Regions from separate parts of the Homo sapiens genome. Here regions 1 and 3 are each linked to region 2. The links are contacts of gene promoters, found by promoter capture Hi-C in blood cells and fetal thymus (Javierre and others, 2016). All regions are on one chromosome and are shown on one strand. The core of a region is centred on a gene start or on the middle of the fragment in contact, and the rest is flanking DNA. Distances in the headings are between cores, read along the strand shown. Region 1 holds the start of LHX5 (LIM homeobox 5). Region 2 holds the start of DTX1 (deltex E3 ubiquitin ligase 1). Region 3 overlaps SLC8B1 (solute carrier family 8 member B1).

Region 1 (2,700 bases), core at 98-2,597, 410 kb after region 2:
CCTGGATCCTTTCTAGTCTGCTGCTGCCTAGCTAGGGCCAATCTGCCTGGCTGGCTGAGCCTAGCCATGAGGTGGGGAGCCCTTCTCCTAGGCTGGAAGGAGGAAGCAGAAAGGAGGGAACCTTCCACTGATTTCCAGTACCAATGGAGAGGCTTTCCAATCCACCGCTCTGGGACCCGCTGGAGCTAATCAGGAGCTGTGGACAGCAGGGCCTCATAGTGATGGACCCTAGAGAGCAGGGATGAGTTTCAGCCCCCCTAAACCTCTGGCCTGGCAGGCAGCAGGGGAATGTGAATAGAGGACAATCATAGATCCTGCAAGGCCAGGACAGGAATCTCTCAAATCCCCGCTTTCCCGCGTTCCTGATCTCATTCCTTTTCTTTCTTCTTTGAGCTCAGGGAGAAAGCCAGCCTCCCCCGAAATAGGAGATGGGTGAGGCTCAGGTTGGGGGTGGGGTGGGGGAGGACCCAGGACTCTAGGGACCCCACATCTACTCACACCCATGTCTCTAAACAGGGCGAATTTGGGTGACATTGATGTAGTGAGGGCATTAGAAGCCATAAGTCACTTTTGGCCTTATCCGGCAGCGTAATTGGCCATATGCACCTTATCAAAAATCATTAGGCACTTTGCAAGCACTGCTACATTAGGGGCATCGGGCCTCCGGGTCCAGGGAGTTAACACGTGTAAAGGAGCGGCTGACATTTTCTCCCATTCAAATTCTCAGTGCGGAGTCGCTGGGGCCGGCAGGCTGCCTTTCTCTGTGGCGTGATTCACGCCCCCATTCCTCAGCGCGGGGAATTCCTGTTCACAAAGCCGGCTCTGGGTGCCCAGAGGAAACAGGTAGGGCTCAGCTGCCCCAAACTCCAGTGGCTTCCAGGCTGGGGAAACTGAGGCCCAGAGAGGTGATCTGCCCTGGCCAGCCACAGGGCCCACAGGGGTAGGGGGGCTGGGGAGGTGCCACAGCCCAGTCTAGACCCCAGAGGTCCTGATTCTCAGCCTCGATTTCGTTTCTACTTTTCAACATGGGAGGAAATGTTTAAGGGGTTGGGAGGTGGGTGGGGGAGGTTCTCTCCTCCCATCACCAGGGGAGACCTTCCTCGCTGGGCCCCCTCTGGAGCTGAGAAGTTTCTGTTTGGGATTGCGGCCGATGGGCTCACACATTCTGCCTGGAGCGAGAAGCCTTCAGGCGTCTCTAACTCATGCAAAAATCCTTCCTCTCTCTCGGGACGGGGCTTGAAGCTTCTGTCTTGGGGTTGCAGCTGCTTGGAAGGGGCGGAGAGGAGTGGATAGCAAGTTTGTCAGGGCTTCCTCCCTCTGCCCCGCCAGCGCTCTGAGCCGGCCTCGAGCCAACGTGAGGCAGCGAAGCAGCGTCCTTCTTCCTCCGCCTGGGCTCGGGACCTTTCCTGGACCAAGGACAGGAGGAGAGCAAAGTGCTGCCCGCTCCCCATCTAAGCTTGTGATCCGGGGAGGCTGGGATGGGGATGGGGGTATCCCCTTCCCCAGCGCCCCAGTGGAGCGCGCGCAGGGTGGGCGCGCAGGCAGCAGAGCGGCGCGGCCTCTTACCTGAAAAAGTCATTTTTGCAGTAGAGCTTGCCCTCGCGCGAGAAGCACTTCTCCGAGAGGTTGGTTTTGCACTCGCAGCACTGAACACATTTGATGTGCCACGCGCGGTCCAGCACGTTCAGCAGAAAGCGGTCGAGGATGGGCCGCTCGCAACCGGCGCAGTGCACCATCATAGCCCCGCGCCCCGGCGGCTTCGGCCGCCTTGCCCTCCCTTTGGGCCCCTGGCCCTCGGGCCTGCCGGGCCCTCCGCTGCCCTTCGCCTCTTGTCTCAGCAGCTGCAGGGCGAGTCTGGTCCGGACCAAGACTCAGCCGGTCCAGTCCTTGGGCAATCTCTGGCCTGGCGCTGGGCTGCCCGGAGTGGGGTGGTGGGGGGCGGGTGGCGTTCACAACCTCATGCCACGGGCCGCACGCCCCGGCGCCTGTTCCGGGCTTCCCCAGGTATCTCGGGTGGCTGCTGGCCTCGGCGCTGCGGAGCGGCTTTCCCCGGTGGCGGAGGCGCCGGCACTTTCCCCCACTTTCAAGCGGTCCGGATCCTCATCTTTGTCTGGTCGCCGCGTAATTCGCGCATCCTTATTCAGATTTGGTGACGTGGCGCTGCACGTAGGGGGCCCAGCGGCCAATGGGCGCACCGTGGCCATGGCAACCTCTTAAATTTATAGCATATCTAAATTGGCTACAGCGTTGCTGTCCGGACAGAGCAAAAAAAACAAGGCATCAGTATTGTTGAGTATTAGCTTGTACCTGGTTCGGAGGCTAAGTAAGTATTTACCTTCCAGTTTGGGGCTGACGGGGCGGGGGCAGCGCGAAACGAAAATTGCGTCTCTCTTCCTCTCTCTTTCTCCTCACAAATATTTGGGGGTCACGGGTTCCAAGGCCTAGTCCGGGAGGTACCCCTGCCCCCTTCGCCATCCCTGGAACTTGCAGAAGTTGCCCCACGCCCCACACTTCGCTCCCCTTCTCCAGCCCAGCCAGCCCAGATTGGATTCCCCCACCCCCGCGCCCCCTCTGCGCCCTGAAGCTGCGTCAGCGCGGTTCTCCCGGCTCCTGGAGCCGGCCCCGGCTTCTTTTTGTCATACACGGGGCTGGGGCCCAGCCGGGCCTTTCTCATGGAGAGAGCTAGTGGAGACCGCGCGG
Region 2 (2,700 bases), core at 181-2,680:
CTGGTTGAGCACCTGCTCTGAATCCGTTCAGTCACAGTCTCCTGTGAGAAGAATCTGCTGACAGCCAGAGCCCTTCTTCCCAGACATACAAGACACACAATGCCTAGACACACAAGTTTGCCTGTAATGGGAGAGGGGGACTTCATGGACCCCAGAAGGCCATCCAGGGACCCTAGGCTAAAATCCCAGAACTCAGTGATCCTGTGGGAGTATCGTCAGACTTGGCCCTGCCCTATGCAAAGCCTCTCTCTTTAGTCTACAGCAGGTGAAAGCAAGCAGAATCATTGACCCAATCTGAAAAAGCCCATCCAACACTGGGCTGCAGGTCAGAGCAGGGGCCTGGGGAGGGGAGGTCCCTCCAGCTGGCCGGAGAGCCAGAGCTGGATTCTGGGAAAGCACCCCTGAGCAGCCTGCCCCTGACCCTGCCTAGTGTATCCCCATCTGCCCCGGGGAGGCAGGCGTGGGCTGCTCTGGGCAGGCGCCCAAACAGGCCACTGACCCCCGTCAGCCACCCAGGCTGGAGTTCCCGGACGCATCCTTCATCTTCCCCAATCTAAACACCCCCAGGCCCCAGGTGGTCCACCCCCCTCCCAGCCAATGTGTGTCTCAGCCGCATCCAGCTTGCTGGAGGACAGGGGGACTGGCCATCCCGTTAACACTTGAGCCGCTGCCATTTCCAGCCTTCCCTTCCATCCAACCAATGCTCACCCACCATTTATTGAGCACCAGTTGTTTGCAGGTGGCTGTGAATGACATGGCAGAGGGCCTGCCCTTCTCTTCCTCCAGGATCTCACCTCCTGGCCAGGGTCCCCTCCCCTGGTCCCACCCCTCTCACCTGGAGCAGGTGGGTGCTTTGGGGGAAGTGGGCTCAGGGCTGGGAACTGGGTACTGGCAGGAGATTCAGATCGGGGTTGGTGTCTGGGCATCGCTCTAAGCTTTTGTGATCCTGGGCCTGGCTCTTACTCTCTCTGGCTTCAGTCTCCTCATCTGTACTCTTCAGATTCCACGGTTCCAACTGAGTCTGAATCAGGCCTTGTCAGCACCCTCCCACCCCCAGGAATAGTTAGAGGAGGAAAGGAGGCTAGCTCTGAATGCTTCAAGATCTTTCTTTAGACAGTCTCTGGATCTTATTCATTCATTCAAGCATTTATTGAGCACCTATTCAGTGCCAGGCCCTGGACTGGGAGACTGGAAATAAAGATGACAAAGATTCAAGCCGGTGACTCCTAAACATCCCACTCCCTGCCTCACGCTCTGCTTGGGGTCAGAAGGCCCCTTGGGGTCTCGGGAGGGCCTGGCCGAGGATTTGGGGCGCCCCGAGACTCGCGTGTCAGCGCCGGTGGCGCTCAGGGCCGAGATCTGTCTCCTCCCCTTCCTCCTCCTCCGCCCCCTCCCCTCTCCCTCCCGGAGCACGGCCGAGGCCTCCTCCCACCCGCGAGATCCCGGCGGCCGCCAGCCGGCTCCTGCGTCCGTCCGTCGGCCGGGCAGTCTGTCCACGCGCGGAAAGCTCGGCGCGGCGGCCGAGGGGCCTGGGAGGGAACGGGCGCGGAGGCGGGACCGCGGCTCCCTCCCACTCCGGGGGGAGCCCAGGAGGCGGCGGTGCTGGAGCGCGAGCCGGAGCCGGAGCCGGAGACGAAGAGAGGCGGTGAGAACGCGGGTGCTTAGGGACCCCACCCCCGGCTCCCGCTGGGGGCCCGCGAGCGGCTCGGGGACGTCTGGGCTGGGGAAGCGGGGCTGTTACCCCCAGGGCGGGAGGCAGAGACGATCCAGCTCCTGGCTTCGCCCCCTCCGCGACGCGACCCCCGAGGGGCCCTGGGCCGCGCCTGCAGCGCCGCGCATCCCCGTGCTTCCCGGCGCACCCCAGCGCACCCGGCATCCCCCCGGCAGGGCGAGGGCCCCGGGGGAAGGGAAGGCTCCGGGAGCCAAGGAGGGCGCCCCCCAGGCGGAGAGTCTCGGAAAACCGCGCCCCCGGCCCCTGCCTTCCCTCCAGGCCTGCCCCAAGGGAAAGCGGGCGGGGCGACCCCGTACGCCCCCCTTGCTGTCCCCCTTCGGTTCCCCATTGTTCTCAGCCGAATGCTCTCCTGGGAAGGGGGGAGGGGGTGCTGCGCTCTCCTCTTAAAGGGCCCTCTCCCCTCTTGTCTCCTGGCAGGTCGCGAGCACGAGTGGGGTGGGGCGTGCCCACGGGCCCCCGCCCCCCTCGTCCCCCTCGTCCCCCAGCCCAGCTCCGGAGCCGCAGTCCAGGCGCGCCGCCCGAGGGTCCACGCCGCACCCCTCCCCCGTGCGTTCTGCGGCCACCCAGGCCTTCCAGGACACCGTGGAGAGGGAACAAGGGGGCAGGGACGCCCCCTTCGGCAGGAGCCGTCGGAGAAGGGGGCCCAGACCGGAGGGAGGCGAGAAGCCCCACTGAAGCCGGGCGCAGGGTCTGGGACGCAGTTGGGAGTGCAAAGGGCTGGCTGAGAGCCGCAGGAGCAGCAGGCTGTGGCCCAGGCCTCCTGGGTGACAGGCCCTGTCTGGCGGGGAAGAGGGACCAAGAGACAACACGGAAGAGGCTGGACCTCGAACAGGGGCGGCTGCCTCACTCCCTACCTGAGCCAGCCGAGGGGGCCAAGGACTTTAGAGCTGTTTCCTCCGGCATAAGAGAGACACTTGCTTTCCAGGGCAGCACCCTTTATCGGAGAAGGCTCTACAGGGAAGGGGTCT
Region 3 (2,700 bases), core at 201-2,700, 280 kb after region 2:
ATCGCTTGAACCCGGGAGGTGGAGGTTGCAGTGAGCTGAGATCGTGCCATTGCACTCCAGCCTGGGTATAGAGTGAGACTGTTCTCGAAAAAAAAAAAAAAAAAAAAAATTGAGTCAGTGGACTGGGAAAAGCAGACCCACCCTCAATCTGGGTGGGTGCAATCTAATCAGCTACCAGCACAGCCAGAATAAAAGCAGGCAGAAGAATGTGGAAAGACTAGACTGGCTTGGTCTTCTGGCCTGCATCTTTCTCCCATGCTGGATGCTTCCTGCCCTCAAACATCAGACTCCAAGTTCTTCAGCTTTGGGACTCTTGGACCTTCAGCCACAGACTAAAGGCTGCACTGTCAGCTTCCCTGCTTTTGAGGTTTTGGGACTCAGACTGACCTCCTCGCTCTTCAGCTTGCAGATGACCTATTGCGGGACCTCACCTGTGATCATGTGAGTCAATATTCCTTTAAAAACTCCCCTTTACATATACATCTATCCTATTAGTTCTGTCCCACTAGAGAACTCCGACTAACACAGATTTTGGGACCCTCTGCTTAAAACCTTCCATTGGCTCCCCACTATCGCAAAACAATTCTCACCTCCTAGCCGCAGCCTGTAAGGCCTTTTGTAATCTGCCCGCCATTACCTCTCCATCCTCCTCTCTTAGCATTCTTCCCCTCACTTGCTCTGTTCCATCCATTCTAGCCTCCCTGCTGTTACGGGAACACACTAAGCTTGTTCCTGCTCCAGAATCTTTGTACTTGCTGTTCCCTTTGCCCAGAATGCTCTTCCCCGGGGTGTCAATGTAGGTGGTTTCCTCTCTCCATTCGCTGGCTTGCCTCAAATATCACCCCCTCACAGAAGCCATCTGTGACCACCCAATCTGAAATAGTTGGAAAAGCTCACGCCCTCCCCCATACCACTTTAGCTATTGTGTGCGGGGCACTTAGCACATCGCCACCTGAAATGTATATGCTTACTTCTCTTTTTTTTGTTGTTGAGACAGAGTCTTGCTTCGCCGCCCAGGCTGGAGTGCAGTGGTACAATCCTGGCTCACTGCAACATCCACCTCACGGTTTCAAGCAATTCTCCTGCCTCAGGGTTCTGATGATTACAGGCACCTGCCACCATGCCCAGCTAATTTTTGTATTTTTAGTAGATACGGGGTTTTGACACGATGGCCAGGCTGGTCTCCAGCTCCTGGCCTCAAGTGATCCTCCTGCCTTGGCCTCCCAAAGTGTATAAGTTTACTTCTTGATCTGTCTGTTCAGGAGACTGTCAGCTTCTTGAGAGTAGTGAATTTTGTCTCTATTGTTCCCCGGTATATCCCAGGCTGCGGTCAGTGCCTGGCACATAGTAGATGCTCAATAGATATTTATCGATTGGAGGAACACAGCCCCACTCAACCCCAGGTTCCTACCGGGATACTCACGTCTACCACGGGGGTCTGGTTCACACCTGAAGCTGGAAACTGGGGGCTAATGTGAGCTCCTGTAGACGAGCCCCTAGTCCCAGACACTGTCTCCGCCATTAGCAGCACACAAAGCACACTCAGTGCCCAGCGCAGATTCAGCCTTCTGCCGGCCATCTGCCCCCACGGGGCCTGGCCCTTACTCTCCACTTCCCTTTCTGCAGTAGCTCAGTTCCAAACAGCTGGCGGCTCCGGTGGCCTGCAAGGTGGGAGTGAGAAAGGGGGACAACATTACTGAAAACCCATGGACACAGCAAAAGGGGCTGGAAGACTCTAGTTAAGGAACTGCCTTCCTGCCTCCCGGCAGCAAAGTTAAGCTGACGGAGAAACCATGTTCTGCACAGTCTCGCTGGAGGGGCCCAAGGCCCTGCCCATTCAGCGTGCAGATCAGATACGCCCTTCTTCCTGAGAACCCATGAAAACCTACCCAGTCCCACCTGGCCCCCAGCCTGAGGCCAGAATGCCAGGGCTGCAAGGGACTTGGGACTTGAGCCAAGATTCAGAGTCTCAGGCTTCTGGGGCAGGTGGGTGAGATACATGTGGGAAGTGGGCAGTGGGCGGGATTGCAGAAGCCCTCAAAACAAAACAAAACAAACTCTACTTCTAGGGGTGGACTTGGCCTCTGGGCCACCAGTTTGAGACGTAGAGAGGCTTGCCCACCACATTTTACAGAGCCCACTAAGCAATGCTGTTGTTCTGTGTCTTACAAGGAGCCAAGCTTTACATGGATGACCTCATTCTATCCTCACGACATGCCGAGCGGGGGTAGCACTAGCATTCCATTTTACAGATGAACTAACTGAGGCACAGACAGGTGAAGCCAGGCTTGTTTCCCCCCTGCATCACGCCTCCCTCATGCAGTCCTCAGAACAATTCTGGAAATGTCACCCCCCCGCCCCCCACCCCACCCTGCACAGCAGGGAGAGGGGCTCAGAGGAGTGTTTTTTGTTTTTTGTTTGTTTCTTCAGATGGAGTCTCACTCTGTTACCCAAGCTGGAGTGCAGTGGCGCGATCTCAGCTCACTGCAACCTCTGCCTCCCGGGTTCAAGTGATTCTCCTGCCTCAGCCTCCCGAGTAGCTGGGATTACAGGCACACACCACCATGCCCAGCTAATTTTTGTATTTTTAACGGAGACGGGGTTTCGCCATGTTGGCCAGGCTGGTCTGGAACTCCTAGCCTCAAGTGATCTGCCGGCCTTGACCTCTCAAAGTGCTGGGACTACAGGCGTGAGCCACCA

The links. Contacts are between HindIII fragments. The CHiCAGO score rates a contact against its expected background, and 5 or more counts as called.
Region 1: a contact is called between a fragment that was not itself captured here and the fragment with the promoter of DTX1 in region 2, in 1 of 17 cell types (total B cells). The highest score is 5.4, in total B cells.
Region 3: a contact is called between a fragment that was not itself captured here and the fragment with the promoter of DTX1 in region 2, in 5 of 17 cell types (naive CD4 T cells, naive B cells, naive CD8 T cells and 2 more). The highest score is 7.9, in naive CD4 T cells.

Annotation. Positions count from the first base shown.
Region 1 is chr12:113,469,760-113,472,459 of GRCh38, forward strand. LHX5 (LIM homeobox 5) reads right to left here and starts at 2,112. Exons shown (of 5, transcript NM_022363.3): 1 at 1,567-2,112. The coding sequence starts at 1,739. LHX5-AS1 (LHX5 antisense RNA 1) reads left to right here and starts at 2,244. Exons shown (of 2, transcript NR_126425.1): 1 at 2,244-2,323. RefSeq lists an enhancer at 1,194-1,994. The HindIII fragment of the contact is 214 bases long and covers 1,241-1,454 here.
Region 2 is chr12:113,055,300-113,057,999 of GRCh38, forward strand. DTX1 (deltex E3 ubiquitin ligase 1) reads left to right here and starts at 1,431. Exons shown (of 10, transcript NM_004416.3): 1 at 1,431-1,645; 2 at 2,150-2,700. RefSeq lists an enhancer at 2,669-2,700. The HindIII fragment of the contact is 5,893 bases long and covers 934-2,700 here.
Region 3 is chr12:113,331,300-113,333,999 of GRCh38, forward strand. It overlaps SLC8B1 (solute carrier family 8 member B1), which reads right to left. Exons shown (of 16, transcript NM_001358345.2): 2 at 1,424-1,661. The coding sequence starts at 1,579. Among named protein-coding and RNA genes, the nearest start is that of SLC8B1, 2.5 kb to the right of the region's middle. The HindIII fragment of the contact is 1,455 bases long and covers 724-2,178 here.